Regions from separate parts of the Homo sapiens genome. Here all the other regions are linked to region 4. Evidence: promoter capture Hi-C in 16 types of primary human blood cells and fetal thymus (Javierre and others, 2016). All regions are on one chromosome and are shown on one strand. Each heading gives the region's core, a stretch centred on a gene start or on the middle of the fragment in contact. The rest is flanking DNA. Distances are from core to core; before and after follow the strand shown. Region 1 has its middle 22 kb from the start of LOXL2. Region 2 has its middle 12 kb from the start of TNFRSF10B. Region 3 has its middle 4.6 kb from the start of LOXL2. Region 4 holds the start of CHMP7 (charged multivesicular body protein 7).

The links. Contacts are between HindIII fragments. The CHiCAGO score rates a contact against its expected background, and 5 or more counts as called.
Region 1: a fragment that was not itself captured here is called in contact with the fragment with the promoter of CHMP7 in region 4 in 1 of 17 cell types (M1 macrophages); the score reaches 5.4 in M1 macrophages.
Region 2: a fragment that was not itself captured here is called in contact with the fragment with the promoter of CHMP7 in region 4 in 3 of 17 cell types (non-activated CD4 T cells, naive CD8 T cells and total CD8 T cells); the score reaches 6.7 in non-activated CD4 T cells.
Region 3: a contact is called between a fragment that was not itself captured here and the fragment with the promoter of CHMP7 in region 4, in 4 of 17 cell types (M0 macrophages, M2 macrophages, endothelial precursors and 1 more). The highest score is 7.1, in M0 macrophages.

What each region holds. Positions count from the first base shown.
Region 1 is chr8:23,424,819-23,428,250 of GRCh38, reverse strand. No RefSeq gene overlaps it. Among named protein-coding and RNA genes, the nearest start is that of LOXL2, 22 kb to the right of the region's middle. The HindIII fragment of the contact is 861 bases long and covers 1,513-2,373 here.
Region 2 is chr8:23,079,467-23,082,818 of GRCh38, reverse strand. It overlaps the pseudogene TNFRSF10B-AS1. Among named protein-coding and RNA genes, the nearest start is that of TNFRSF10B, 12 kb to the right of the region's middle. The HindIII fragment of the contact is 3,866 bases long and covers 1-3,352 here.
Region 3 is chr8:23,407,032-23,410,490 of GRCh38, reverse strand. No RefSeq gene overlaps it. Among named protein-coding and RNA genes, the nearest start is that of LOXL2, 4.6 kb to the right of the region's middle. RefSeq lists a silencer at 1-155. The HindIII fragment of the contact is 1,989 bases long and covers 1,105-3,093 here.
Region 4 is chr8:23,242,242-23,245,329 of GRCh38, reverse strand. It overlaps CHMP7 (charged multivesicular body protein 7), which reads right to left and starts at 1,693. Exons shown (of 11, transcript NM_152272.5): 1 at 1,486-1,693. RefSeq lists an enhancer at 1,500-2,001. The HindIII fragment of the contact is 15,350 bases long and covers 1-3,088 here.

The DNA of each region.
Region 1 (3,432 bases), core at 694-3,193, 180 kb before region 4:
TATTTCCAACACTAACCATGTTGACAGGTCTGAAAAGCCATGGTTCTGTGTTTTTGTTTTCAGTCTGTTTCCATTTGTCCTATGAATTGGCATGTGCCCTGTGGGTTTTTTTGGTTTTTTTGAGATCCGGAAATGCTAATGGTTTGCACAGAGGGGGTCGTGAGGTGCAGGTCACCTCTGTCAGAGTCACAGTGTCTTCTTTTGGAAACGTCATGAAAAGACAAAGGAGTGCCCGGCTAATCCCAAAGCACGCCTTGGCAGAGTGGATCTGCCTGGAGCATCCATCCGTGGCAGCATGAAAGGCAATCCTGTGAGAGTCTTCCTGGCCCCACCTCGTCTGGGAGCATGTGGGCCTGTGATCCCACCTCCTCCTAACAAAAGAAGAGTGTGTCTGTTGATGTGTTTTATTTTGCTTTTAGCCAGGCTAGTCCCCCTGCCCTTGCGCAGTCCAGCCTCTTTCTATTAATAGATCTATTAAGGTTGACTGAGACCTGCTGCAGGGGACGCTAGGGGCACTTTGGCCTTCGATCTTTGCCTTTCACCCTTGACACTGTTTGGCAGGTGAACGACATCCGGGCTCCAGACTTCATGGCCACTTCAACATTTCTGTCAACAGCCTGTGTCTGTTTCATGTAAGAGGCCCAAACAAGAAAATCAAGGCTTAAGAAGGATTTCTGCCTTGAGTAAAGGACTGAAACCTCCTCACAGAACACGATGGTGACAGGCACAAAAGACAGACTTCTTGTTTAAGTAGGTGAACTCCAAAGACGAGAGAAAAGGAGTTTTTTTCCTCCCGTTCAACCAGTCATCAAATAAACATCTCAGGCATCTGGTGTTTTGTCAAGGGATTGGGATTCCAGTGGCCCCTGTGTGACTGGAAGGGGAAAGGTTTGTCGGTGGCAACGCCATCGAAACACAAAGGAGCAGCTTTAGAATCCCCAGTGTGGGTCTTCTCTTGTGTTATTTCTACAACATCCTTGTGCCAGCTGTTCTTGCTGTTCTCTCAGGCTTCTAATTGGGAGTGTGAATACTACCTTTCACCCTTTTTGCCTTCATGAGAATCAGAGTTTGAAGTGGACAGTTCTGAAAATATTAATCATCTTTTTTTTTTTTTTTTTTTTTTTTTGAGACGGAGTCTCACTCTGTCGCCCAGGCTGGAGTGCAGTGGCGCGATCTCGGCTCACTGCAAGCTCCGCCTCCCGGGTTCACGCCATTCTCCTGCCTCAGCCTCCCTAGTAGCTGGGACTACAGGCGCCTGCCACCACACCCAGCTAATTTTTTGTATTTTTAATAGAGACGGGGTTTCACCGTGTTAGCCAGGATGGTCTCGATCTCCTGACCTCGTGATCCACCTGCCTCGGCCTCCCAAAGTGCTAGGATTACAGGCGTGAGTCACCGCACCGGGCCTAATCACCTTATTCTTGCCTGTCATTACACAAGCCTTAAACTCCAGGGACCAGACTTAGCACTTTCTTTTCCTAAGATTGCTTTTTCTCCCACTTGGCCCAAGCTTTAATACCCAGATTTTAGACTCAAAACACTTAAAACATTTGGTGGGCTCTCCTCAGCCTTGTAAAGTTCTTTGATACTGGTCATGGCAGCACAAGAGAATTTTCTGGAAGTTCCTGGCTGTTTAATGTTCAAATTACACGTTTAAATTCTCTCCCACCTCCCGTGGCCCTGTTTTCCATCAGTGTATCTATTTCTGGCCCAAATGTCCTTGAACATGGACCATGACAGGTCCTGTGTTTACTTTCCATGTTTCTACATTTATAATCCAGTAAAGAAGACACCGAGTAGTACATAGTATTTTGTAAATATTTGTAAACTAATGAAAATCTGGTTTCTTTCACAAATCACCTCTTTAGGTTTCTAAAATTTATGAAAGAAATCTTTTAAAATCTATTCTAGGCCGGGTGCAGTGGCTTACGCCTGTAATCCCAGCACTTTGAGAGGCCAAGGCAGGCGGATCACGAGGTCAGGAGTTTGAGACCAGCCTGGCCAACATAGTGAAACCCTGTCTCTACTAAAAATACAAAAATTAGCTGGGCAAGGTGGCGGGCGCCTGTAGTCCCAGCTACTCAGGAGGCTGAGGCAGGAGAATCACTTGAACCCAGGAGGCGGAGTTTGCAGTGAGCCAAGATTGTGCTACTGCACTCCAGTCTAGGCGACAGAGCAAGACTCTGTCTAAAATATATATATATTTTATTCTCAATTTTTGCTGTTCTTTCCAGATGTGCAGAGTTGTGTGTGGTTTTAAAACCATATGCAATGTGCCGTGAAGGGCGGGATGGAACCCAGGCCTCTGAGTCTCAGTTCTCTGTTCACTTCCCTCCACCAGAGTTTGTTAAGGGAGTGTTGCATTTTAAAGCTTTATTTAGAAAAACTTAGGAAAACCAAGTTTACCTCAAGTGGTTTCCTTTTTTCGCAACCTGTTCAGCCTTGACAGAAAGGAAAAAGAAATCCCAGAATTAGGTAGTAATAATAGAGGCAAAGTGAGATTGATATTTTCTGAAGCCCTGCTTACAGAAAATAATTCCTGCATATTTATTTTATTCTAAACATAGCTTCAGATTGTTTTTCATTCTAAGTTGTCCTTAAAAGTCACTTTTTAAACCTCACAAGAAGCACCAAATGTAAGGGGGAAAGGATGGATTTGACTACATCTAAAGTAAGACTTTCTGTTCATCAAAGCTAACAGATGGCAGACTAAGAAGGTATTTGCAGTGACTGAAATTGAAAAGGGATTAAAATGTACAAAGTTTCATGCAAAACAACAAGAAAAAGGAAATCCAAAAGAAAAAACCGGCCATGGATATTAATAGGTGATTCACAGCAGGGGAAACCCAAATGGTGAACAAGAGATAAACTAAGCTGAAGAAATGCAAATGTAAATTAAGACCCACTACCTTATGCCCCTCAGAATTGCCAGACTTCAAGTGCTGGCAGTGATGCGGGGCCTGGACTTCAATATTGCTGGTGGTGGTGCAAACTGCAATGCGTACCCCAGAAGGGAAGCTGGCAGCTTAAAAGTTAGCAGCGTGTGTGCCCTTTGATTCAGAGAGCCACTTGCGCGTGGCTCTCCGGAGAGATTTCTACCTGGGTCCATGAATGGACTTACGGAAGGATTCCTTGGTAATGATTCTGAGTGACTGTGTTGATGGAGGCAAGCAAGGTCTTGGACAAGTCAAAGGCGGCAGGTGCGTACCATGGAATACTGTATAGCCATGAGAGACAGACCTAGAACTATGAACAGCAAGCGGGTGGCTCTTAAAAATAGTGTTGAATACTGAAAGCAAGACATGAGAATTGTTGTATAATGCCATTATGTTAATGTAGGGCATACGGCACTGTATGTCCTATGAGGATGTGCATATTTTGATTCAAATACATTAAAATGGACGTTATGGGGACACAGATTATTTATGAAAG
Region 2 (3,352 bases), core at 170-2,669, 160 kb after region 4:
GTGTCAGCCATTCTAGGTCCTGTTGTCACAGTGTTTAAGAATTGATATTTCTGAGATGAGTCAGATGCTGCAGCTCAGGAATCTTTACCGTAAAATGCAGCTCAGGGGCTCAGGGTCACAGACCACCAGAAGCGAGAGGGGCCCATCCACTCCTGAGTCAGCAATCATTTCACACCATTCCCAGGCACCGTCCACTCTTCCCTCTTGATGCCATAGCAGATGCCGGGGCAGATAAACACCTGCTCTGCCCTGAGCCCAAAGAAGGCCCAAGATTCACTAATGTTCAGCTGTAATGGCACTTGAAAGAGAAGCTATTTGTAGTCCCAGATCTAACCTAATTCTCACTGTCCTCATCTGCTGTGGACAAGGACGAAGATGCAGTCCCATGACTGTCCCAGCAGGACAGACCAGACACATGGCTTCCCAAAGATACCAGGCTCTTCAAAATCCTGGGCATATGTAAACATCTACTTATAAATAAATATTTGTTTATTTGTAAATAAATACCTCTATATACCTCTAAAATCATCAACTAAGACAGACCGGCCCCTTGAGAAGTTGCCAGTCATCAAACCCTGGTCCAGTCTCTGGGCGTAGGAGGGAGAACTGGAATGTAGTCAGTGCCTCCCACAGAGGGAGGATTTCTCCTCCCATTGCTAGTTGTGTATGTAGTCATTTTTGACTGCTGATTTGCACCAGGCAGCCCATGTAAACAGCCTAATAAATACATTTCCTAAAATTTTTCCATGCTTACATCAACATGCACGAAAATAGGAAAACAGAAAAATGTACATCATATAGTATTACACAATACAGATGTTTCTCTACTTAAGATGGGGGTAAGCCCCAATAATCCTATCTTAAAGCCGAAAAATCTAAATTGAACCATTATAAGTCCACATGCTCATGACTTAGCATGGGGCTATGTCTTGATAATCTCATCGTAAGTTGAAAAGATCCACATTTAAAACGCATGTAATACCCAGATAAACCAGATATAAAGTTAAAAAACTCTAAGTCAAACCACCGTGGTATTACACCATCTTTAGTTGGATGTCATTAAATGCACATACCACTATAGAAGGAGCTTACAATATAAGAAAGTTTTTTCTCATGTGACTTCTCTCATGAAAAGGACTTCTGTCATGATGAACTGAAAAAAAAATGACATCCTAAAACTACCCTTAATACACAATCGTATAACTCTATGCCACCAACATCTTATATAAATTTCCACAGTTTGCTTATCACACACAATATTTCATAAAAATTACTCCAAGTGCGTTGACAAAGTTCTAGGACCTTTGGTAAGCTGCACCATATTGATAGCAGAGTTTGTTGAGGCATGGGTCAAGTACTGGACTCTTTCTTCCAGGCTGCTTCCCTTTGTAGGAGAAAAGGTAAACGAGGGAAGCTCTGGTTTCCTGAAGGGATTCTTTCACAGGCAGGACGTAGCAGAGCCTGCATTCACCTTCCTCATAGAAGAGATTTTTGGAGCCCACCAGTTGGTCCTGAATTATTTCCTTTGCATGTCTTTCTTTCAGTGTTTGAGGCCTCCAGCAAGGTGTTGACTGAGAAGAAGAGGAAAGAGAGGGATTTAGGGTCTTCATGCTCCAAAGATCATCAGCACAGGATCGGCATAGGACCCCCTACTTCCAGCAGGGAATGCTCCAGAAGAGCACTCTCAGCTATGGGGCTAGCAGTTAGGACATCGTCCCTATTGCCTCCATTCCTTCTACATCTCCAGGCACAAAACACTTACTCTCAGTGGGGTCAGCGCCATTCACTGGAACCAGCAGCCTCCTCCCATGACCCTTTCAGCTTTTGCCTGTTCCTGTAACACACAGTGGGGAATGCTCTGGTCAGAGTCAGGAATCCTGCAGTCTAGTACTGACCCCGATCACCAGCCAGCAAGAGACCTACAGAGCTTCCCCTCTCAGGTCTCTGTGGAGATGGAGACAAACCTCTGGTCCTGCATAGCTCTTGGGCTCTGTGTGCTGGTGACTCATTGAAACAAAAGTGACAGGGAGTAAATGCTCACTTCATAAGTGTTCTGCCCAACTTTGACTACTGTATACACCTGTGTAATAATCCTATGATCAAGACATAGAACATTGCCACACCCCAGAAAGTCCCTTTCTTCCCCATCTCATCAATTTCCACCCACCCTCACAGGAGAGAATCACTTCATTACAGAATTTTTACCAACAGAAGTCTCAACAGAGGACTATGTATGAGAGCGCTCAGGAAACATCTAACAAAAGAATTTATTCCAAGACTCCAAAAGTTCTTTGATCATCAATACTGTACCATATCAACAATCTAAATAAGGAAATAAAGCATCAGTCTCTATGGAGGCTGAAAAGACATTTGGTGAAATTAAACACCAATTCTGAATTTTTGGAACCCCTTTAGAATAGGAGGCTGCATTCTTGATGATGTGAATTTCTTTCTATATGAAACCAAAAGTGAACACCATTCCTAAAGGTGGCATGTTAGAGGCCTTCCCCGGAAATCAAATCAGGACCCAAACACCTGCCTTCCCTAAGCGCAGCTGAACATGGTTCTGAAATTTCTGGCCTGTGCAACAAGATGGAAAACAAAAATGAGGCAAGATTCTTGGAAGTGGGCAGACACAATAATCATTATATTCAATGTCACTTAAAAACCCTAAGAATGGGGCCGACCAGGCACAGTGGCTCACGCCTGTAATCCCAGCACTTTGGGAGGCCGAAGCAGGTGGATCACGAGGTCAGGAGATTGAGACCATCCTTGCTAACACGGTGAAACCCCGTCTCTACTAAAAATACAAAAAAAAAAAAAAAAAACTAGCCAGGCATGGTGGCACATGCCTGTAGTCCCAGTTACTCGGGAGGCTGAGGCAGGAGAATCGCTTGAACTCAGGAGGCGGAGGTTGCAGTGAGCCGAGATTGCACCACTGCACTCCAGCCTGGGCGACACAGCCAGACTCTGTCAAAAACAAACAAACAGAAACAAACAACCCTAAGAATGAAACTATGATATGGAAATATAAATGTATGTCTGAAGGAATGTTAAAAACATAGTAGATGCAATAAATTAGCAAACAGAATTACAAGGCTATGCAACTTATAACGATTACAAAATACCAAACAGCCATGAAAAGAAATAGGAATAAATTTATCTGAAGAGGAAAACAAATCACAACTCAGTTATAATAAAATACTTGACTTCAAAATGGATAAGGAAATACTGAATATTGATAAGATATTAAGTATTTCTAGATTAATTTTTAGTTTTAAGATAAATTGATAAAAATGCCACTGATTTTCTTTGGAAGGGGAGAATGGAAGAAATCTTACAATTATAAGCT
Region 3 (3,459 bases), core at 850-3,349, 160 kb before region 4:
CCTCTGATGAAACCACACTCATCAAAAGTGGTTGTGACAGAATGCTCAGATTTGGAATGATGAGAAACACGGAAGCCACATCATAGGACCTGATAGATATCTGGCCAACACAGGAACACTGGAATATGTGATCTATGTGACCATCCCCTTCCCAAGGCCAGATCGAACACCCACCCCTTGACATATACCAACGTTAATTGCTTAATGACACGAGGAAATACATTCTGAAAAATTCGTCATTAGGCGATTTTGTCATTGTGCAAACATCACAGAATGTACTTATGCAACCCTAGGTGATATAGCTTACTACACTCCTAGGGTATATGGGATAGACTGTTGCTCCTGCACTACAGATTTGTATAGCATATGACTGTTCTGAATACTGCAGGCATTTGTAACACAGTGGTAAGTATTTGGGTATCTAAACATATCTAAACATAGAAAAGATACAATTTAAAAAAATGATAAGGCCAGGCACGGTGGCTCACGCCTGTAATCCCAGCATTTTGGGAGGCCGAGGTGGGCGGATCACGAAGTCAGGAGATCGAGACCATCCTGGCTAACACGGTGAAACCTCGTCTCTACTAAAAATACTAAAAATTAGCCGGACGTGGTGGCGGGCGCCTGTAGTCCCAGCTACTCCGGAGGCTGAGACAGGAGAATGGGGTGAACCTGGGAGATGGAGCTTGCAGTGAGCGAAGATCGCGTCACTGCAGCCTGGGCAACAGAGCCAGACTCCGTCTCAAAAACAAAAAACAAAGAACAAACAAAAAAGATAGACCGGTTTAGGGAAGGCATTTCCCATGAAGGGAGCTTGCAGGACTGGAAGTTGCTTTGGCTGAGTCAGGGAGTGCGTGGTGAGTGAATGTACACTGTACACTGCTGTGGGCTTTATAAACACTGCACACTTAGGCTACACTCAATTTATACATAATACTTATTTTTTCAATAATAAATTAGCCTGAGCTTACTGTAACTCTTTTACTTTATAAACTTTTTAGTTTTTAAAACATTTTTTGACTCTTGTAATAACACTTAGCTTCAAACACAAACACTTTGTACAGCTGTACCAAATTTTTAAATTTCTTTAGTATTCTGTAAGCTTTTTTTCTATTTTAAAAATTATTTACTTTTGTCTGTGTTGTAAACTTTTTTGTTAAAGACGAAGACACAAACACGCACATTAGCCTAGGCCCGCACAGGGTCAGGATCATCAATGTCAGTCCTCCACCTCCACATCTTGGTCCAGGAAGGTCTTCAGGGGCGTTAACAGACATGGAGCTGTCATCTCCTAGGATAACAATGCCTTCTTCTGGATACTTCCTGAAGCACCTGACTGAGGATGTTTTACAGTTAGGCTTGTTTTTTTTTGTTTTTTTTTTTTTTGAGATGGAGTCTCACTCTGTCACCCAGGCTGGAGTGCAGTGGCACAATCTCGTCTCACTACAACCTCCACCTCCCGGGTTCAAGTGATTCTCCCACCTCAGCCTCCCAAGTAACTGGGATTACAGGCGCCCGCCACCATGCCTGGGCTAATTTTTATATTTTTTAGTAGAGACAGGGTTTCACCGTATTGGCCAGGCTGGTCTCGAACTCCTGACCACAGGTCATCCGCTTGCCTTGGCCTCCCAAAGTGATGGGATAACAGGCATGAGCCACTGCACCCGGACAGCTTTTTTTTTTTTTTAATAAGTAAAAGTACACCCTAAAATAACAATTAAAAGTATAGTATAGTAAATATATAAGCCAGTACCATAGTGATTTATTATCATTATCAATTATTATGTACTATACGTAGTGACATGTGCTAGACTGTCATATGACTGGCAGCTTGTATGTTGTTTACACCAGCATCACTACAAACACATGAATAATTTATTGCATGACAATGTCACAACAGCTATGGCGTCAATAGGAGAGAGAAATTTTTCAGCTCTATTATAACATTATGAGACCACCAAGTGATACGGGACCACCAACATATACCTGGACCATCATTGACTGAAATGGCATTATGCGGCACGTGACAATATTTCCAAATCACCTTCCCAGATGGCTGGATCAATGTTTGTTTGGTTGGTTGATTGGTTCCCCATTTAATTCAACAAATAGACCATATGGAGCCTCTTCTGCAGTTCTATAAATTTAACTACTCGTTTCTGCATTTTTATTCATCTAAGTAATCATTACTAATACCTACTAAAATTATTCCTACTTTCCCACTTCATCAGACGGGCCTTCCCTGGCCACCCCTACTGGACTAGCACCTGAGCCTCCTTCACCTTCTGTGCTCACCAGCTTTAGTCTTCTCTGTAGCACTCTGTCACCAACCGACTCCCACATTTCCTCATTTCTGTGTCTTTGTGTCTTGTCAGTCTCCTACTCTGGCATATAAGCACCATGAAGGCACAGACCGGCTACAGCATTGGCTGGGCCTCCCTGGAGCCTCAGGCTATGCCTACTGGGACATGCTATGCTTCTTTCAATCTAAGTCGGTCCAGACTGGTAGGAGAGTGATTTGGCAAGAGAGTGCAAAAGCCAAGGGAAAAAAAAGAAAGAATCGCCTCTAGCCTTTGACTCAGTAATCACATTCTGGGAATGGATCCTAATGCAGTAATTCACATGACCCCTGGGGATGGGGTGGACAGGAGGTGTTGCCTTCCCTCTCCCTGTGTGGGGTCTGAAGCCCTGAGGGACAAGGAGTCACTGTGCCCTCCTCAAAGATGCCCTCCTCACAACGCAACATTTATTGTCCAAGTACCATACGAGGGACTGTTCTGAGTCTGAGCCCATTCAGTCCTTTTACTCCTTTGGAGCTTTTTTTTTTTTTTTAACAGATACCGCTTTGTCACCCGGGCTGGAGTGCAGTGGCATGATCTCAGTTCAAATGCAGCCTTGACTTCCTGGGCTCAAGTGATCCTCCTGCCTCAGCGCCCCAAGTAGCTAGGACTACAAGCCCATACCACCACGCCTGGCTAATTTTTATATTTTTTGTAGAGACAGGGTTTTGCCATGTTGCCCAGGCTGGTCTCAAACTCCTGGACTCAAGCAACCCACCCACCTTGGCCTCCCACAGTGCTGAGATTACAAGCTTAAGCCACTCCACTCAACCTCTTAGGAGCATTTTGAGGCGCTTCTTACAGATGAAGCATGTGAAGGAAAAGGGAGTTCACATCAGTTAATGGTGGAGCCAAGATTTGAACCCAGGCCCCCTGACTGCACAAGCATGCCCTGAACCTACTGTACGACTCTGCCTCTGCAGCAGTGCAGGACCTGAGTGGTGGAGGTGGCAGGGTGGGAGGTGTATCCAGACTTACAGACATAAGGCATCCCGCCATCATTTTGTTTCATCTGGGACAAGGGTCTACTGTTGTCCTGAAGTAGTCTCCTAGGTCTTGATTTCAATTCAACAAAAGGGCATCAATAAAACACTCAGTGCAAACTTCAGATACTCTACTC
Region 4 (3,088 bases), core at 444-2,943:
AAAGTCTCGGCACTCTAGGAATAGAGGGACACATCCTCCACTTGATAAAGAACATAAACAGGAACCTTACAGCCAACATAAGAATTAATGGTGAAAACCTAGATCGTTTTCCAGTGGAATCAGGAATAACACAAGAATGTCTGCTCACACCATTCCTAGTCAACACTGTACGGGAAATCCTAGCTAACACAGTTAGCCAAGAAAAAGAAATAAAAGTTGTACAGACTGAAGAGGAAGAAATAAAATGGTCTGTCTTTATAGAAGACATAATTATCCATGCAGAAAATTATGAAAGAATTGCCAAATCGATGTCCTGGAACTAAGAGGCAATGAGAACAAGATTGCAGATACAAAGTTAATGTATAAAAGTCAATTCCCATATACCTATAATGATCAAGTGGAATATGAAATTAAAAATGCAATACCATTTACATTAGCACCCCCCTATAAAACTTAGGTATAAATCTAACACGGTATGTACAAATTCTACATAAGGAAAACTACAAAATTCTGATGAAAGAAATCTATGAAGGACTAAATAAATACAGAGGCATTTTATATTCATGGACAGGAAAACTCAATATTATCAAGATATCAATTCTTCCCAAATTGATCTGTAGATCCAGTGAAATCCCAGTGAAAATCATGGCTAGTTATTTTGTGGATATCAACAAACTAATTCTAAAGTTTATGTGGAAAGGCAAAAGACCCAGAAGAGCCAACACAATATTGAACAAATAAGTCAGAGGACGGATACAACCCAACTTCAAGAATTACTATAAATCAACAGTAATCAAGATAGTGTGGTATTAGTTAAAGAATAAACAAATAGATAAATGGAACAGAATAGGAATCCCAGAAATAGGCACATGTAAATACAGTCAACTGACCTTTCGAAAAAAGAAAGGCAATACAATGGTTCAAAGAGTCTTTTCAACAATGAGCACTGGAACAACTGTACACCTACATGCAAAAACAAAAACAAATCCAGGTACAGATCTTACACCATTCACAAAAGCCAGCTCAAATGGATCATGGACTTAAATGTAAAAACACAAAACAATAAAACTCCTAGAAGACAAAACATCTAGATGACCTTGGGCATCATGATTACTTTTTAGATACAACACAAAAAGCATAATCCATGAAAGAAATAATTGATAAATTAGACGTAATTATTATTATTATTATTATTTGCTTTCTGAAAGACACTGTGAAGAGAATGTGAAGATAAGCCACAGACTGGTAGAAACTATTTGCAAAAGACATCTCTGATAAAGGACTGTTATCCAAAACACACGAGGAACTCTTAAGACTCAAAAAAAAAAGAAAAAGAATAACCCAGTTAAAACATGGATAAAAGATCTGAGCAGACCTCTCACCAAAGAAGATCTACCAACGGCAAATAAGTATATGATAATATGCCCAACATCATATGTCATTGGGGAACAGCAAATTAGACAAGAATAGCATACTACTACACACCTATTAGAATGGTGAAAATCCAAAATACTGACCACACCAAATGCTGGTGAGGATGCAGAGCAACAGGAACTCTCATTCATTGCTGGTGGAAATGCAAACTGGTACAGCTACCGTAAGGTTGGCCAAGAGAAAAGACGAGTATACTCAAAGTCAGGCAAGCAAGTTTATTGACCTGCCGGCCTGCTGCATAACAGTCAGAGGAGGCAGCCCAGGGTGTTTAAGGTGAGGGACTTATATAGGGCTTTGAGGGCCTAGGGGCTTTCTGAGGTTAGTCTACATCCTGCAGTTGTTTGTCACTTCTTGCCCCACCTGGCTTAGAGTACCAGGATGTGGTTTGGCCTGGGGGTGGATACAGCTGTACCTAAGTTCTGGTAACGTGAAGTAGGGGCAGCATCTCAGAAGAAATAAGCTGCAGGGCATTTAGGGGAGGGGGCTTGCTGCGTTCTTCTGTGGACAGGTTGTCTCTAAGAGCTACTTTGGAAGACAGTTTGGTCGTTTTTCACAAAATTAAACATTCTCTTCCCATGCAAGTTTACTTATAGTTTAACTTTGAAACAAAGTATAACAGTCCTTTCCCAAAACAAAACTCCTTACTGCCTGTGGACTAGACTGCCTAGACTGCCACAAGATTAGAAGTTATGGTAATTTTACTAAATCAAGATGTAGCTATTTTCATTAAACCAGTATCAATGTCTTATTTATTAATGGTTACACGAGCAGAGATCATTCTGTCTTGGGCTGGGTTTATAGCCTGTGCCAAATTTTGACACCTAATAGTATTTGGCAGGGTTAAGTATGAAATTGCTTGATTAATAAACGCAAATAAAAATGTATGCTGGCAATTCCTAAGACATTTCTAATATTACTTTACCAATAATTTTAAAGATAGCTTATTTATTAAAGATTTTACTTAAGTCACATAACTTGAAAAAGCATTTGACTAGTCTTTCCTTTTTCTAATAAAGTATTTGATGTAAATGCTTTTATTTTTTAAGACAATTAATTAGAGCTCTTTGATATATTTTCAGGAGTGCAACATTGTATACATAACATATAAATACATAGATGTATTAGGCATGCTGATAGAAGAAGTACATCTTACAGATTCATAAAAACCTTTTTTCTTTATCTTAGACTTTCAGATTCTTGATAACCTGTTTCACAGTGCTAGGCAGTAGTCAGCTAAATAGTCTTAAATTTGCATATTAAAGGAAACAACTCAGGTGAAAGTCAGATAGCAAAATTTACATTATAAGGTCTGAAGAGAAATTCTGTGAGCTAGAGGGAAATTAAAACAGATTTAATTGCCAATTGAACATAAAATTATAGAAATTTATCACTGGATTGTATAAGGAGACCACTGTTATTTAGATAGGGACTACCAATTCTTTTTTAACTGGATCTCTGAGCTCTGGGCAGAGCCCACACTGAATCCTGGGTCTCCAAAAAGGGAGAATTATTATGAGGCTAGACCACATGATGCTTTTACAGTGCACTTAAAACATTTTTGTAAACAAAGCATTTCTAAGTGTCTAAACTATACTCTTTCTTAAAAACCCAAGAGTAGCCTCTGTTGCAATAACTATTTTAGTAAAAAAAAAAA